Linked DNA regions of Homo sapiens: region 1 is linked to region 2. Evidence: promoter capture Hi-C in human tissues and cell types (Jung and others, 2019). All regions are on one chromosome and are shown on one strand. The core of a region is centred on a gene start or on the middle of the fragment in contact, and the rest is flanking DNA. Distances in the headings are between cores, read along the strand shown. Region 1 has its middle 52 kb from the start of PMPCB. Region 2 holds the start of NAPEPLD (N-acyl phosphatidylethanolamine phospholipase D).

Region 1 (2,700 bases), core at 22-2,521, 96 kb before region 2:
GTTTTTGCAGTGGCTGGTACCAGTTGTTCCTTTCCATATTTAGTGCTTCCTTCAGGAGCTCTTTTAGGGCAGGCCTGGTGGTGACAAAATCTCTCAGCATTTGCTTGTCTGTAAAGGATTTTATTTCTCCTTCACTTACGAAGCTTAGTTTGGCTGGATATGAAATTCTGGGTTGAAAATTCTTTTCTTTAAGAATGTTGAATATTGGCCCGCATTCACTTCTGGCTTGTAGAGTTTCTGCTGAGAGATCCGCTGTTAGTCTCATGGGCTTCCCTTTGTGGGTAACCTGACCTTTCTCTCTGGCTGCCCTTAACAATTTTTCCTGCATTTCCATTTTGGTGAATCTGACAATTCTGTGTCTTGGAGTTGCTCTTCTCGAGGAGTATCTTTGTGGCATTCTCTGTATTTCCTGAATTTGAGTGTTGGCCTGCCTTGCTAGACTGGGGAAGTTCTCCTGGATAATATCCTGCAGAGTGTTTTCCAACTTGGTTCCATTCTCCCTGTCACTTTCAGGTACACCAATCAGATGTAGATTTGGTCTTTTCACATAGTCCCATATTTCTTGGAGGCTTTGTTCGTTTCTTTTTATTGTTTTTTCTCTAAACTTCTCTTCTCGCTTCATTTCATTCATTTGATTGTCCATCACTGATACCCTTTCTTCCAGTTGATCGAATTGGCTACTGAGGCTTGTGCATTCGTCATGTAGTTCTCGTGCCTTGGTTTTCAGCTCCATCAGGTCCTTTAAGGACTCCTCTGCATTGGTTATTCTAGTTAGCCATTCGTCTAATTTTTTTTTCAAGGTTTTTAACTTCTTTGCCATGGGTTCAAACTCCCTTTAGCTCAGAGTAGTTCGATCATCTGAAGCCTTCTTCTCTCAACTCGTCAAAGTCATTCTCCATCCAGCTTTGTTCCGTTGCTGGTGAGGAGCAGCGTTCCTTTGGAGGAGGAGAGGCACTCTGATTTTTAGGGTTTTCAGTTTTTCTGCTCTGTTTTTTTCCCCATCTTTGTGGTTTTATTTACCTTTGGTCTTTGATGATGGTGACGTACAGATGGGGTTTTGGTGTGGATGTCCTTTCTGTTTGTTAGTTTTCCTTCTAACAGTCAGGACCCTCAGCTGCAGGTCTGTTGGAGTTTGCTGGAGGTCCACTCCAGACCCTGTTTGCGTGGGTATCAGCAGTGGATGCTGCAGAACAGTGGATATTGGTGAACAGCAAGTGTTGCTGCCTGATCATTCCTCTGGAAGTTTTGTCTCAGAGGAGTACCCGGCTGTGTGAGGTGTCAGTCTGCCCCTACTGGGGGTGCCTCCCAGTTATGCTACTCGGAGGTCAGGGATCCACTTGAGGAGGCAGTCTGTCTGTTCTCAGATCTCCAGCTGCGTACTGGGAGAACCGCTACTCTCTTCAAAGCTGTCAGACAGAGACATTTAAGTCTGCAGAGGATTCTGCTGCCTTTTGTTTGGCAATGTCCTGCCCCCAGAGGTGGAGTCTACAGAGGCAGGCAGGCCTCCTTGAGCTGCGGGAGGCTCCACCCAGTTCGAGCTTCCTGGCTGCTTTGTTTACCTACTCAAGCCTTGGCAATGGCAGGCGCCCCTCCCCCATCCTGGCTGCCGCCTTGCAGTTTGATCTCAGACTGCTGTGCTAGCAATGAGGGAGGCTCCGTGGGCATAGGACCCTCTGAGCCAGGTGCGGGATATAATCTCCTGGTGTGCCATTTACTAAGACCACTGGAAAAGCGCAGTATTAGGGTGGGAGTGACCCAATTTTCCAGGTGCCTTCTGTCACCCCTTTCTTTGATTAGGAAAGGGAATTCCCTGATCCCTTGCGCTTCCCGGGTGAGGCAATGCCTAGCCCTGCTTCAGCTCATGCTCGGTGCACTGCACCCACTGTCCTGCACCCACTTTCCGACAATCCCCAGTGAGATGAACACAGTACCTCAGTTGGAAATGCAGAAATCACCCGTCTTCTGCATCGCTCATGCTGGGAGCTGTAGACTGGAGCTGTTCCCATTCGGCCATCTTGGCTCCACCCCCCGCCAACTCATCTTACTTTGATTTATCCACATTTCCTCAGTTCCTCCATGTACAATTGGTCCTTGCTGCTCACACATTCTTTCTTTCAATTTCTTCCTCTTTGAAGTTCATCCTTTGTATTTTCTGTGTGAAGCTTTATTAAATGGTAAATCATTTCCCATGAGCCTTCCTCTGCTGTTTTCTTCCTTTCTTTCTTCATTAATTCAACCAATATTTATTAATCTTCCAAGTGTGAAGCTGGGGATATAGCAATGAACAAGACAGATAAAGAACCTGTCCCTGTCCTCATGGTGCTTAGAATGTGTTAGACTAGGGAAGTGGTGTATGGAGAAAAGATAAATGGAAGCATAGAAACACTATACAGATGTGGGATTGAGCATCTGCATTCTTATACACAGACATGATCACAAAAAGGCAATTTAAGAAATGGTTTTTGGCCGGGTGCGGTGGCTCACGCCTGTAATCCCAGCACTTTGGGAGGCTGAGGCGGCTGGATCACTTGAAGTCAGGAGTTTGAGACCAGCCTGGCCAACATGGCGAAACACCGTCTCTACTAAAAATACAAAAATCAGCCAGGTATGGTGGCATGTGCCTGTAATCCCAGCTACTCGGGAGGCTGAGACAGAAGAATCAGCTTGAACCAGGGAGGCGGAGGTTGCAGTGAACCGAGA
Region 2 (2,700 bases), core at 44-2,543:
GTTCTTTACATTCCTCCAATGTCACACAGGCACATTCACTTTCAAAATGCAGAATAGTTTGGTCTGCATTTTTCTGCCAGTCTTATCTGCATTTAGAACCTGTGGTGGTGGTTTCTTTTTTGCCAAGATAACCCCAGGGACAAGCTTTTTTTTTTTTTTTTGACCCTGGCACACCCCAGGACTTTTATAATCTTTTTGCCCAACAACCCATTGTTGAATTTTACTTCGACATGCCTGTACTTTACTTCTTGAAACAACTAATTTCATTCTGCAGTTTAAAAAGCAAATCCAGTAAGAAACTCAGAATCACAATCGTATGCTCTTTCATAGTTATCCTAGCGTTAAAAAAGATGCAAATTTAGATGAGAACCGTGTGTACCAGGGGGCTGTGACATCATTTTAAAAGTAAACGATCACACAGTGAACAATGCCGTGCTCCCATTAATATTCAATACGTACTGTACAACATTTCAAATTAGAGTTTAGTTTCTTCGCTACCAGGATCCTAGCGCCATAGGCTGTAAGTATTCAAATGCTTCTCGACTGTGATTGAGTTGGCTATGACAGTCCGTCAATGGGTCTGCAGGATCCCATTTAGTTTTAGCAACTGTGGCTGGTGTCCAGGAATGCGTTCATGCGATCTGAAAGTAAGCCTCTGGCTTAGGACAGCGGGGGGAACCAATTTGATCTTAGGAGGGTCCCTGCAGAGTGTTTGAGTCGCGAGGCGGGCCGGGGCAGGCCGCGTGCTCCCAGGCGCTTCCTTTACCAAGATGGCTTCGGCGCCCCGGCCCACAGGGGCGGCCATCTTGGTAAGGGCTGGAGAGGCAGCCTGAAGGAGGCCACCGCTGGCCCTGCTGTCAGATTCGAAGGTCATAATAAGGGAGTGACCCGGCGACGACTCGCCCCAACGATGGCGAGGCGGCGAGAGCTGAAGCGCTGCCTGCAGCTGCTGGCGTCCTCGGCGGAGCCAGCGCGGCGGGCTCGGGTTAGGAAGAACCCGAGCGCCTGCCGCGGTCGCCCCTCCCGCTACGCGGCGGCGCTTTGCGCGGGGACTCTGTGGCCGGAAGCCGCGGAACTGAGGCGGCGCGCGCTCCCGGCCACCCCAAGCGCGAGGTGAGTCCGCACCCCCGCGCTCGCACCCCGCCGCTCTGGCCGCGCGCCCGCGGCCCGGGATCCCGAGTGTCCGGAGCTCCGTGGTTTCTGTTGGACCTCGCGGGAGGCGGTTTTCTCCCGCCTGCTGTGCTCTGTGACCTCTCTGCTGCCTCCTCCACGGTCTCTGGGCGGAGCAATCCACACTGCTGAGCCTGGGGTGGTTTGGAATTCTTCGGCGAAGTGGAGCGGGCTGAGAGTGGGTTTCCCGTCCCCGAGCCCTCCCTCATCTCGGAGATGCCGCACTTGTGAGCGACAGGGCTTCATTTGAATTTTCGCACCTCGCGAGTTGCGGAGCCTGCATCTCTGAAGCTGCCTCGGTGAAGAGCCACAGCATTATTTTTTTTCTCTTTGGGAGAGTAGCTGTCTGGGATTTGAGATCCTATCTTCCCTGCAAATTACCAGGTTGCATCTTCACTGATAGGAATACATGTGGGTTTATCTTCTTTTGGTTGTATGTAAATGAATGGGTCGACAACTTCCTCCGAGCAACTTATTGTTGCTTCATCTATAGTGTTTATCTTCTAAAAATCCATTCCAACAGGTTTCTCCCCTTTTATTTTGGAATAAGTGTACTTATTTAACTATGGAATGGAAATGAAGAGCAAAAAAAAAAATGGGGCTAGCTGGGGAGGGGTGGTGGAAGGCTGTGCTTTCTTGAGTTTTCTGTTCTGTGGTTGTTTGCTTCTTATAAATTGGGTATTATTGTGGGCTTTTCAGAACACGTATTCAGATAGGTTTTTGTTGTTGTTGTTTTGTTTGTTTGTTTTTTCCTTTTTTTTTTTTTTCAAGCTAGAGCTCGATATGGTAGATACTCTTCCATGGGTTCCGGGATCACATGCATTCATTATACGTCAGTTAAACCTGGAAAATATTAAGGGAGTGAGTAAAGTTTAACAGCCTTTTAAAAAGTCATTTAGTTCTTGTCTTTGCCTTTACTGTACGTTGTTATATATACATGTTATAATATGACTGACTCACCTGGTTGGCTTTGGCTTAGCATGAAATGTTTGCTACTTGATAATTCTGATTAATTTGTCCAGGAAGTCATTCCTGAGATGCAGTTCTTCAAATTGAGAAATAATTCCCATGTTTGTTAAAAAATGGAAATCTCTAACATTTCCATTTCTATTTTCAGTTACATTGGTTATGAATTAGCCGCAGACATGGACATCGTTTAGAAAGAAGTTATGTAATCTTTAAAAAGAAGATTACCTATATCCCACAATAGTGTGATTTTTGTTGCAAGAAAATACTGGGTCTGTTAAAGAAGAAATTTAGGGTAAAAGTACTTATTTAAAATAATAATTTAAGGAGAGATTGAGGGGTTAAATTTGTTTCAAGTCAACTGAAAATATAGTCAGGATTTTCAGAGATTTTGTTTTGTTAACATTCTGCAGGCTTTCCTGCTACAAGAATTATGGTAAGTCTCCAAGAGATAAAAATACTTAGTGTATTTCTCATACCCTTATTTTCACTCAGAATTCCAAATTATATTGTAGAAATTCTATGTTACAAAATTCTAATTTTAAAATTAGTCCAGTTATAACT

What was found. Contacts are between HindIII fragments. The study calls those that stand out against the background at their distance.
Region 1: a contact is called between a fragment that was not itself captured here and the fragment with the promoter of NAPEPLD in region 2, in 3 of the 25 tissues and cell types used here (bladder, heart right ventricle and liver).

What each region holds. Positions count from the first base shown.
Region 1 is chr7:103,243,926-103,246,625 of GRCh38, reverse strand. It overlaps the pseudogene DPY19L2P2. Among named protein-coding and RNA genes, the nearest start is that of PMPCB, 52 kb to the left of the region's middle. The HindIII fragment of the contact is 4,146 bases long and covers 1-2,700 here.
Region 2 is chr7:103,147,692-103,150,391 of GRCh38, reverse strand. NAPEPLD (N-acyl phosphatidylethanolamine phospholipase D) reads left to right here and starts at 1,293. Exons shown (of 5, transcript NM_001122838.3): 1 at 1,293-1,581. LOC105375434 reads right to left here. Exons shown (of 3, transcript XM_047421168.1): 2 at 1-1,374. The coding sequence ends at 572. The HindIII fragment of the contact is 5,120 bases long and covers 1-2,700 here.